2 separate regions of the Homo sapiens genome follow, and region 1 is linked to region 2. Evidence: promoter capture Hi-C in 16 types of primary human blood cells and fetal thymus (Javierre and others, 2016). All regions are on one chromosome and are shown on one strand. The core of a region is centred on a gene start or on the middle of the fragment in contact, and the rest is flanking DNA. Distances in the headings are between cores, read along the strand shown. Region 1 overlaps FRYL (FRY like transcription coactivator). Region 2 holds the start of OCIAD2 (OCIA domain containing 2).

Evidence for each region. Contacts are between HindIII fragments. The CHiCAGO score rates a contact against its expected background, and 5 or more counts as called.
Region 1: a contact is called between a fragment that was not itself captured here and the fragment with the promoter of OCIAD2 in region 2, in 1 of 17 cell types (total CD8 T cells). The highest score is 5.4, in total CD8 T cells.

What each region holds. Positions count from the first base shown.
Region 1 is chr4:48,629,293-48,635,183 of GRCh38, forward strand. It overlaps FRYL (FRY like transcription coactivator), which reads right to left. Exons shown (of 64, transcript NM_015030.2): 4 at 4,999-5,198. The coding sequence starts at 5,118. Among named protein-coding and RNA genes, the nearest start is that of ZAR1, 140 kb to the left of the region's middle. The HindIII fragment of the contact is 3,638 bases long and covers 581-4,218 here.
Region 2 is chr4:48,901,634-48,908,024 of GRCh38, forward strand. It overlaps OCIAD2 (OCIA domain containing 2), which reads right to left and starts at 5,141. Exons shown (of 7, transcript NM_001014446.3): 1 at 5,025-5,141; 2 at 2,851-2,978. The coding sequence starts at 2,916. RefSeq lists a silencer at 4,819-5,078 and an enhancer at 5,369-5,448. The HindIII fragment of the contact is 6,070 bases long and covers 3,406-6,391 here.

The sequences.
Region 1 (5,891 bases), core at 1,150-3,649, 280 kb before region 2:
CCTTCTATCCTAAAACAGAACAGTGAAATAATTTTTATAAGGGCTAAAACAAAAGAACAAAAAGGATGGGAGAGGAGGTGAAAAGCAGATGAAGACCATAACTAATTATCTCACCAAACAACGGTGACTCCTGAGTAAGCAAAGGGGAAAGTCGGCAGTCTGTTCATTCAGTCAGTCATTCACTCATTTGTCCAAATTATTTACTGGGTTCACAGTATGCCAGACATTGTTCTAGGTTCTGGAGATACAGCCATAACAAAACGGAAAACAACTCGCTCTCTTACAGAGTTAACAGTCTAATTAGAGAGTAAAGAAGTGTATATTATGTCAGACAGATTTAGGACAGGAAGTTGGAATGGGGACTGAAATTTCAGATAACATGATCATAGAGAAGATGACACTTGAGGCACAACCAGAGGGAAGTGAGTGAGCTTGACCCACAGAGAGTAAAGGAAAGATAACCCAACTGATGCTTTAGAACTTCCCAGAAGGCTCAGGAATTGGAGAACTTGGGTACTCTGAAAGTATGGCTAAAGGTGAGGATAAAAATAAGAGGGCTGATTGAAAGATTGTTTTAAAAAGCTTGTTTAAGAAAGATTTAGACCCTCCCTTTCACTTTACCTTCAGAGGCATTGCCTTTCTTAGGAAAGGGCAAAATACAATGATGCTGACTGGGGCATACAATGGTTGAAGAGGTACCATACTGAAGATAGGGAGGTTAAGCAAGAATATATAAACCAAATATCAAAAACCCCAGTTATCTTCTGAGTCTAGTTCCCCAGAATGCTTGCAGCTAAAGCCTAAACTCTCCCATTCAGAGTACTGTAGGAACCTTCTTTGGGGACTCTGACAAGTCCCCCAAAAAAGATCTGACACTGATGGTCCATTGACAGTAATACACAGAAGATCACAGTCAAAAAGGCTCCTCTGTGTACACTGGACTTCCAATCAACTGTGTTTCATTCTTAAAATATAACAAGTTAAAATAAACATGTGAGGAGAAGGTAAAACCAGCAGAAAAATGCAGTTTGGAAGAAACTGACCATACAGGGAGAAGAAACCCTTTAAGACACATACATATATTTATACTCTCAAAAAAAATAGTGAAAATTTTAGAGTTTTTAAAATGCTGGGCCTAAATCAAAACATAAGGTCTAAATCAGAAGAAGATAGGTAAATGGATTTTCTTCTATCTTCTTTTCTAGTCCCCAGCAATCTAAAAGATTAACAGATAAACTTGGATATACCTAGGTTATTACCGAGGATTGATCCATCTCCTTTTAGGAAAAAAGGACCTAAGGTATTGGATTGCATAGCCTGCAAGTTGCCATTTCAATCACCAATTGCCCTTCTTGAATCTTCCTTCTAAAATGAAAATGAAATTGTGGCTAAAAATCCAACTCAGCTAATCTTCGAGTCTTTTGGCTTCCTTAATCTTCTTTTATTATGGTTTCTAATGTAAGAATGAAAAAGCCAATTCTCTCATTTTAGTGGTAGATTAAATTCTTTCAGCAAAAGCCATTCACATTTGTGTTTTTGAAACCTACTACCTGACTGACCATGAGCAAGGCCAGCCTCCTTGTATCTGACAAGCCCTGGATGCTATTTTCTTTAAAGTGACTCTGAACCCAGAGAGTCATCTTAGATGATTATTACCTAAAAGGGTACAGAATAAATTTCAAAATAAATGAAATTCCAATAAAAGCATTTGAAGCTATATTGTAAAAACTGTGACAATATTAGATTAAATGTATTTTCATTATCTAATCTTGAAGCTATGGATTCCCAACTTACCCAGACTTGGACATAAATAAAAACAAAGCTGGCACTCTGCTCTAGATAAGAAGAAATTATCTTGGTATATAGGAGTGTAAGGGGTAAAATCTGTAAAATATGATGGTGATTTGGGGGTTTTCCTGGTGTGTCAGGAAGAGTAAGCAGTGATGCCTCTTCTATTTGTGATGGCAGAGTAGAAACATCTACGTTCTGATGAAATCCTTACCACTATTAATCATAATTTTATAATCTCAGATTACATAGCAGATGCCTCTAAAATTAACTATTAAATAAATGAATTAACTAATAAGATAAATGAATAGCATCAGGCTATTCTGAAAGAACTATCGGAAGCTCTGGCTAGAATGAAAACATTATTATTATTATTATTATTAGAAAAACAAAAGGCACACACCACAGCAATACTTCTTAAGGCTACATTCATTAAAATACTAATATTTAACAAAAACCCTCTACTGAGTACCCACCACCACAAGCAGTGCCACAGATACAGAGATGAGAGAGACCTGGTTCCTGGTATCGAGTAACTCACATCGGAGAAGATAAACATGTAAGCAATTAACTATAACGTGATATCATCATAATCTAGAAGTATGTACAAATTATTACAGTAAAATACATATTCATTTAGCTTAGGGGGGGATGACTAAGTTAGAGGGAATATATGGGAAGTTTGGAATGAGAATATATAATATGGCCAGAGGCGGTGGGTCTATAATCCCAGGACTTTGGGAGACCAAGGCAGGTGAATCACTTGAGCCCAGGAGTTTGAGACCAGCTTGGGTGAGATCTCATCTCTACAAAAACACAAAAATTAGCCAGGTGTGGTGGCGCATGCCTGTAGTCTCAGCTACTCAGGAGATTGGGGTGGGAGGATTGCCTGAACCTGGGAGGTGAAGGTTGCAGTGAGCCAAAATTGCGCCACTGAACTCCAGCCTGGGAGACACAGCAAGACCCTGTCTCTCCAAAAAAAAAAAAAAAAAAAAAAAAAAAAAAAAAAAAATATATATATATATATATATATATATATATATATATATGCGCACACAAAATCTCAAATATATAAATATATATATAAAAATTGAGAACTGGTAGGACTGTATCACATGATACTACTATAAAACATTTTATAAAATAAAGTGTTTTTAAAATGTGCTGTGTGACTTGAAAATGGCTGAGGCCAGGTGATGGGTCCTAAGTGTTCATTATACCATAATCTTTAGTTTTATATATGTTTGACATTTTCCATAATAAATTCTTCAATTTGTTTAGAGTTGTTCCCTTACTGTATGCTGTTTAAGTAGACTAGTGTAGTAATTTATCATGTAATTCAGAGACCATTGAAAAAGAAAACTAACATTTTGTAGTTTAAGCATATCTATAATCAAATCTTATAATCATGAACTTATGCTATAGGCTTTTGTAATCCTTACTTCTAAAACAGAACTTTATATTAATAATATATATGCTGTCTATATATATACTATATATACATTATACAATATACACAAAAAATATATATACATTAGTATAAAAATCAATTTGCTATGTGGAAAGCAATCATGGGATGATTTAAACTGAATATAAACATCTGCACAGTTTTGAAATATACATTTGGCTATTATTATGTATCAGATCCCGGAACATATTATTTCATAGATGCTTTCCTCAGAGTAGTTTTCTCTACTTAATCATTGAGAAGAAACTCACCTTCACAGCAATTTCAAGGCTACTTCACTAAGAAAATAAGAGCATTGACAATACTTCCTTCAACTTTCTTCCTGCCCTGTCCTCCCTTCTGTTGTTTTCCTCTCTCATCCTTCTAAGGAACTATAACAGGCTGAGTAAGCACACAGGTTCTAAAGCCAATATATTATTGTGCCTAACTCCTCAGTGCGCCGTCACAAACCCTCTGAATCTGAAATTGGTGGTGAATAGCTATCCCTAATTCAGTTGTGTAAGGAGTGAGTTTCAGCTGTTACAACATCCTTCGCCTTCCTCTCCATTCCCAACATCCCACATCGAACCTACACTGTGTTCTTAGTACATCACATACCCACTTCCTTCCAGCCCAAAGAGTAACCTAAACTGTCACCTATTTAAGTTGGCAGAGAGTCAAAGTTACTTCCTGTAATTATATCAAGAAGGTAAAACTGTTCTGTTTTATTTCTGCTTATTTCCAAATCCAATAACCACTTCTCTCAATGTTCATTGTACTTTGCTGCTCTACGTCATTGGCAATAATAATTCTATATTTTCTTTCCCTTGAAATCATCATTTGCTCTTTTGGCTTCAATTTACACCCTCATATAGATGATACCAAAATCTGTATTTCTAGTTACCATCTCTTGAGTTCTCAAAAAGAATTTCCAACTACCAATCAAGCAACTAATTCCATGTGGTGAGATCATCAGTATCTCAAGCTTAAGGTACGCAAACGAAAAATTATTTTATCCACCTTTTCTACCCAAAGATATTCCTGTGTACTTTACCAAAGTAAATATATTATCATCTTTACTAACACTCCAGAGCATCTTTAACCCTTAACTTTCATTCAAAATGCCCCCTACTTAGTTACTTGTCAAGTTCTATTGATTTTACTTCTGTTATTTCTCTTACTTTCTTCTGCAACCATTTCTACTTCTAACACCATAGTTCAAGACCCCTTTCATTCCAGCCTGAACTATGTACAATAACTAAATAGTCTCCGCTCTCAATGTCTTCTCTCTCTATTGTTCAACCACCATATTATCCATCACAATAGCATTTACAACTCTTTAGAAACTGACCCATGTGTTTGTTTTCAGTCTTTCTCTTCCCTCCTCCTCATCATGGGCTCTAATCAAATAGAGCTTCTCACATTCTCCAAGTATGTCTCACACAATATACATGTAAAATATGTTCTCTTGTTTATTATAAGTTTGGCTGTGACCTTAGTGTTAACTCACATTATATCCTAATTTTCCTTTATTTCCTATGTTTTATTTGTTTCCACAATTCCCACTGTTGAAGTTCCTTTTTGTTCTTTTGCGACCTGCAGCAACTTATCAAAGTGGATTCTAAAGTCAGTGCAGCTTTCTACATCACCACTATCCCTTAATATTTTTTTCAAGTATATTATTTCCTTTGAAAAATCTGCATTATAGTGGTTAATACAAAAGTCAAGAAAATATTTCAGATTTATAGGTCAGCTGTACTCACCAAGGGTTCGGCCATTACAACTTCAATTTTCTTTTCAGCTTGAACAGCAAATTCTGCAAAGAGGCTCTTGATGACATATTCACCAGGTTTGACATCTGGGTCAATCGTAATGTTTGACATGATGATATTTTTTTTTCCCCAAGTGGAATGAAAGTTGGAAGAAGCACAGTATTTATTTACTTTGCTGACTGGCGCTGAAGCTAAAAGTAAAAGAAACAAAAGAACTCTACTTTAATAAATCAACTCAAGAGGTCTACCATAACTACCCTATTTAATTTGTAAGCTGCCTCTAACCCTCAACCAGTTCTCCCAATCTCCTCTACCATAATCCATTTTGTCTATTTCTAACATACTAACATATTTATAATTTAATTACATATCATGTATATTATGTACTGTTTCTCTCTCTATCCTACTAATGTGAATATAAGAACAGGGATTCTCTTTTGGTTTTTGTTGTTGTTGTTGTTCATGGTAAATCCCAAGTACCTAGAACAATGCCTAGCATAGATTAGGTGCACAGTATTTGCTGAATGAATGAATGGATTCTAATCAGATAGTCAAATGCAATAAAGGAAATAAAACAGGTGTGAATAAATGAAACAGGAACGGGATTGGGGAACTGAAAAACAACACTACTTTGGAAAATATGCTCAGTGAAGACCTCACTGAAGAAGCTACACTTAAACTCAGGCCTAAATGATTTTTAAAATGAGGGAGCAAGACAAAGCACCAGGAACAGAAAACACAAGACTGAACGTGCATGCTTAAAACACAGAAAGACCAGTGTGGCTGGAGCTCAAGGGAAGAAGCAGAGGTGGAAGGGGATATGAGATAAGGTCAGAATCAGTAGTCAGGGAGCAAGTCACAGAAGATCTTTAAGAACTTTGTAA
Region 2 (6,391 bases), core at 3,891-6,390:
GTTGTCAGGCAATTCCTGTAATTGGATCTGGGTTGTAATCTTTTGTTATATATTGGCTCATTAATTTTTTTGTGGAAAAATACATATAACATTTGCCATTTTGACCATTTTATTTTTATTTTTTTTAGAGACAGGGTCTCGCTCTGTCACCCAGGCTGGAGTATAGTGGTGCCATCATAGCTCACTGCAGCCTCGAACTCCTGGGCTCAAGTTAACCTCCCACCTCAGCCTCCTGAGTAGCTGGGACTATAGGTGCACACCATCATGCCCAGCTAATTGAAAAAACCATTTTTTTAATAGAGCTGGGGGAGGCGTGGGGGGGGCGTTCTCACTATGTGTCTCAGGCTGGTCTTGAACCCCTGGACTCAAGTGTTTGTCCCGCTTTGGCTTCCCAAAGTGCTGGGGTTACAGGTATGAGTCACCATGCCTAGCCCCATTAAGTTTTTTTTTTAAATTTAACTTGTTCCTTACTATAGAAGTCACACTCATATTTCCTTGTTTGTGAATTATTTATGTGTGTTATTTGCCATTTATCTCCAAGGTTTTAGTGTTTTTCTGGTTGAGGTGCAGCTCCTTAACTCTTGAAGTGTAGTTTGATTGTGCTGATCTTGCCACTGTCTTTTTTAGACTCTTTCTGTGTAATAGATGTCAATGTACAGATGGTCACCATTTCTTGAGCACTTTGTATGGGCCTGGTCCTGTGCCAAGCACTTTACATGCATGATGTCAATAAAAGGGGTGGAGAAACCCTCTGGCACCAGTGTCTGTGGAGCTCTACAAACAGTCCAAATGGGCAACCTCCCTCTTCTTTCCCTGCAACTCCCCAAGGCACAGTGCAAAGATGCAGTAAGTCCCAGGGTGAGTCACAGCAGCAGGAGAAGGAGTTGCTCTCAGTCTCCACTTACCTTCCTTACTTAGCACAGGCATGCCTCCAGATGCCCAGGGTGAATATTTGCTCTTGCTCTTGGCTGTGCCTGGGGCAGAAATAAGGACTGCCTCCCCTTAATAAACAAATGCACACACCCTGGCTATCACAATTGCTTCCAGTCCTGCCATCAGCCTGTAATCCCAGGCTTTGGGAGGCTGAGGCGGGCAGATCACTTGAGGTCAGGAGTTCCAGACCAGCCTCGCCAACATGGTGAAACTTCATCTCTACTAAAAATGCAACAATTAGTCAGGCATGGCGGCAGGTGCCTATAATCCCAGCTACTCGGGAGGCTGAGGTAGGAGAATTGCTTGAACCCAGGAGGTGGAGGTTGCAGTGAGCCAAGATTGTTCCATAGCACTCTAGCCTGGATGACAGAGTGAGACTCCATCTCAAAAAAAAAGGATCTCTGGTTATCATTTTCTGTATAGCCATGAATGTTTGATGACTCTCCATTTCACAGAGGCAACTCAGGTGTCCAAATAATTCTCCTTGTGACTTTCTATCATTTGTCTGTTTGCCTCGCCTAAACTTTGCTCCTTAAACATTACTGCTATTACACTATTTTTAGCTTGAACATGAACGCCATTGACCCATCAAATGCTTTCTCTTTTCTTCATTGATGTATTCCTGAAATACACAATATCCATTCCTAACAAGTTGAAAAATTGTTTCCATGTTAACACTTGGGTTCTCAATCTGCTAGCTAATTAGTAATAAAGGACTCTGCCACCCTGAACAGGAACACCTGTCAGCAGCATAGGATTAGTGTGATTACTTACAGTAATATAAATGTAAAAAAATAAGCAAAATATTGCCTGTAATCTCAGCACTTTGGGAGGCTGAGGTGGGAGGATCATTTGAGCTCAGGAGTTTGAGACCAGCCTGGGCAATATAATGAGACCCCCATCTCTAAAAAATAAATGAAAGGATAAATAAAAATAAATAAGCAACATGTATCACTCTGTTAGAGTCTATTAAGAGTTTTGCTCTGCTATCAGAAACCTCTTCAGTCACTGACAGTTCATCTAAGAGTTAGTAAGGCTGGATTACAAACAGGAAAGAGTAAAGAAAGGGTTTTTTTTTTTTTTTTTTTTCTTTTTTTTGAGACAGAGTCTCGCTCTGTTGCCAGGCTGGAGTGCAGCGGCCTGATCTCGGCTCACTGCAAGCTCCGCCTCCTGGGTTCATGCCATTCTCCTGCCTCAGCCTCCTGAGTAGCTGGGACTACAGGCACCAGCCACCATGCCCGGCTATTTTTTTGTATTTTTAGTAGAGATGGGATTTCACTATGTTGGCCAGGATGGTCTCGATCTCTTGACCTCGTGATCCACCCGCCTCGGCCTCCCAAAGTGCTGGGATTACAGGCGTGAGCCACCGCGCCCAGCCAAGAAAGAGTTTTGTAAATAAAATTTTAAATTTTAAATTTTAAATTTCAGCTTCTTTTCAAAGCAGCTGAAAACACACTTTCCTTCCCCATCCTATTTTCCCTAAGCCCATCCAACAAAGTGCCAGACTGAAAAAAATAAGATGACTGGTTAAAGTTGAAATTTAATAAAAATCCTATGATATATATTTTTTCAGATGGCAGGTCCTGCAATTAAAAGTATACCTGACCAGGCATGGTGGCTCACGCCTGTAATCCCAGCACTTTGGCAGGCCTAGATAGGAGGATTAATTGAGGCCAGGTGTTTGAGACCAGCTTGGGCAATATAGTGAGACCTCATGTCTAACCACAAAAAAAATTAGCCAGGCATGTGGGCCTGCACCTGTCATCCCAGTTAAGTGAGAAGCTCAAGTAGGAGGATCACTTAATCCAGCAGTTCGAGACTGCAGTGAGCCATGACTGCACCACTGCACTCCAGTCTGGGTGACAGTGTGAGATCGTGTCTCAATCAATGAATCGATCAATAAATATAAAAGTATACCTGCTTGCTTGGTGGTGGAAAATGGGCATCTTTATCTTGGTTTCCACGAGCAGACGCTGAAGCCATGATGACTTTGTGCTTGCTCTCCTTCCAGTTGTTTATCCTCTGCTTACTCCTTGACCCAGTGTCTAAGGAAGGTAGAAGAGAATCACTATGCCATGACTAAATGTTTGCATCAAGCTTAAAAGCATCCTGAGGATCCACTGGAGTTATTTGGAAAATGTGTTTTTCCTTTTGTCATTAGTCCATCTGCAAACTCAACTTCCAGTGCTCCTCTTCCACCAGCACACATACATGCACTCACTAATGGGGACAGATCAGATTTAGAATAGAGTGGAAATACCACACTGTGCACTGAGTGTCGATTATGTGCCAGGCCAGGGGATATGAAGAAGGATAAGACAAGATCACCGCTGTGAAGGAATTCACAGTCCAAAAGGGGAGATAGACAAGTCAACAGTTACACAACATGAAAAGTATGCATGGGATGCTAAGGAAGAAAAGAAAGCAGGGTCCATTCCATCTAGTCATGTCACAAAGGAACTAGGACTCCTAAGCTTTCAGGAGGATCTGTGGAGGGTAGATGGACTCTGGGGCAGGAGGACCAGGTTGGAAGGTGGTACACTAGTCCAGACAAGGAGTTACAGGGACGTGAACAAAGACCCTGGTGGGAATTTAGCATCTTTGATAGAGATGCTAAATTTGGGTTTGGAAATGTTGGATTTGGGTGCCTGTGGGGGCAAACAGTGGAATTAGCCACTGTTAATATTTGACGATTTGGGTCTAGAGTTCCAGAACAGGGGTAGGCTAGAGAGATGAAGTTGGGAGCTGCCATCATAGAGATGAGAGTTAAAGCAGGGAACTTTAATAAATGTGTCTAAAAACAGTACTGGAGAATATGAACACTGAGCCCAAGGGAATATCGAAAAGAGAAGAAAGATTAAAAAAAAAAAAGCAGGCCAAGGAAATGACTGAGAAGGAATAGCTGATACAGAGGGGAGGGAATTTCTGAAGGAGGGAGTGAATCATCAACACCATCACATGGCTTAGAAAAGTGGACCCTGGATTTGGCAATGATGGACATAATCCAGGTGGACTTTGAGCCTCCTCCTGCCCCCAGTGGCCACTGCATTCTGCAGCCCTGAACTCTACCTCTACCTCTGCTTTTCTTCTGCAAAATGAACCTCTTATATACAATTCTGTTTCCTACATCAGTTACTAAACTTTGAGGCATTTGAGCCAAGGGGACCCGTACTCGCACCAAGTTTCATCACAGGTGTCTAATGTGATTACAGGGGCAGCACGGTGCCCTGCACGGGAAAGTACTGGGGTCAGAGAGACCAGAGTTCAAATCGTGACTCTTTACCCCTGCGATCCCTTTGGTGCAAATGACTTAATCCGTCTCTGCCTCAGCTTTCTCCACTGTTAATTGGGCATAATGGACACAACAATGGTGAGGGGCTCTTGCAGGAATGAAGACTAGGATGAGGATGAGGATGAGGGATACGTCCATAAAGCCCCTGCACACCTTCCATTTCCTGAGCACTCCCAGGAAGTCTTTGCTGACCACGCCAAATTAGATTATCTTTGCTTAGCCATTAGGCCGCTGCCCTATATTGGGAGGCAAATATACCTCTCAGCTTCGGTGGCCAGGTCCCCTGGCACCCACTTAGTCCTCAGTCTGCACCTAAAAGCAAGCCTTCCGAGGGTCTTGCCTTGCAGGTGTAGCTCCCACCCCCCACGCTGGGGTGGTCCGGGGACCCTCTGTTTCCTCAGTGGTGGGGAAGGGACCCGTGGGTTCGTGGGTGCTGACCGACGAATGTGCGGAGGAGGGCGCGCCCCAGCATGGGGGGCGGGGGTGCTTCTTAGGATGGCTTGGAGGGGGGCGCCTGCAGGGCTGGACGGCGGACGGGGGACACTGCACTTTCTGATGCGGTCGGGGAAGCCGGGAGTCAGCCTACTGGAGTCCGCTGCCATCCCTGGCCAGAAGCAGCCAGCGCCACCCCAAGCTCCCCAGCCCCTCGCCCGTGCCGGGGCCGCCGGGGTCCGAGTTAGGGGAGAGTGGGGGGCGGCCACCGCTGCACCGCGCGGCCTTCGAAGGACTGCCCTGCGGCGCCGCGTTCCCCCGAGGCCACCCCCTCCCGCCGTCAACACTCCCCGGGGCGGGGGCTCACCTGTGTGGTCTGGGTCGCCTCCGAGGCCGAGTCCCTCGTTGCCAAGCCCAGCAGGCCTCGCTCCCCCGTGACTGCACCGCCGGCCCGCTCCAGCTTCCCGAGTACCCCACCTGTCTCCCCGGCTTCCTTCCGGCCCTTTGTGTTTTCTTCTCTTGCTCCGCCCCCTCGCCTGCCCGCTAAGCACTTAAGCTGGTGAAGTCACCCTACTGCCACCTGGCAGTCACTTTCGCTGTTGGTGGCAACCCAGGCTGGAACCCAGCTCTTGCCGGAACCCCTGCCCCATCCTTGAGGCTTGTCCCGACACCGAGTAGGTTCTAGTTCCTTTGTGCCTTCCAAATGACTCCCTTCCTCCAGCAATCACAGCCGCAACAGCCATGTATTGCGCCCCCGCCCTAGGCCAGGCGTGGGCATCACCTTTGCACTCCTTTCTGCAGCCGTGTGTGGTGCCCACTGTGACCTGCACTTCACAGACGGGTCATCTGAGTTGTGCAGGCCACTAAGGGAGCCTGGAGTCAACCCCAGGCCTGCTTGGCTCCCAGGCCTTCTCTTTCCATTGCTCTTTGTCGGTCCCCTGCTGCCTCCTGTCCCTCCCCAACTCTGACTTGTGGAGGGAAGCCTTTGACATGTGGGGGTACCTTTAATACCGATATCACTTGTTACCGGAGAGGGGTCCCGATCCAGACCCCAAGCGAGGGTTCTTGGACTTCTCGCAAGAAAGAATTCGGGGTGAGTCCGTAGAGTGAGAGCAAGTTTATTAAGGAAGTATAGAAAACAGGCCGGGTGCGGTGGCTCACGCCCATAATCCCAACACTTTGGGAGGCAAAGGCAGGCAGATCACTTGAGCTCAGGAGTTCAGACCAGCCTGGCCAACATGGTGAAACACTCTCTCTACTAAAAATACGAAAAGTTAGCCAGGCATGGTGCTCTATGCCTGTAATCCCAGCTACTCGGGAGGCTGAGGCAGGAGAATCGCTTGAACTCCGGAGGCAGAGGTTGCAGTGAGCCGAGATTGCGCCACTGCACTCCAGCTTGGGCGACAGAGCCAGACTCTGTCTCAAAAAAAAAAAAAACAAAAAAAAAACAAAAAACAAGAAGAACAACAACAAAAAAGAATGGCTACTCCACTGGCAGAGCAGCTGTGTGGGCTGCTTAGCTAATTATACTGGTAGTTATTTCTTGATTCTATGCTAAACAAGGGGTGGATTATTCATGAATTTTCCAGGAAAAGGGTGGGCAATTCCCGGAACTGAGGGTTCCTTCACTTTTTAGACCATATAGGGTAACTTTCTGACGTTGCCATGGCACTTGTAAACTGTCATGGCCCTGGTGGGAGGGTCTTTTATCAGGCTAATGCATTAAAATTAGCA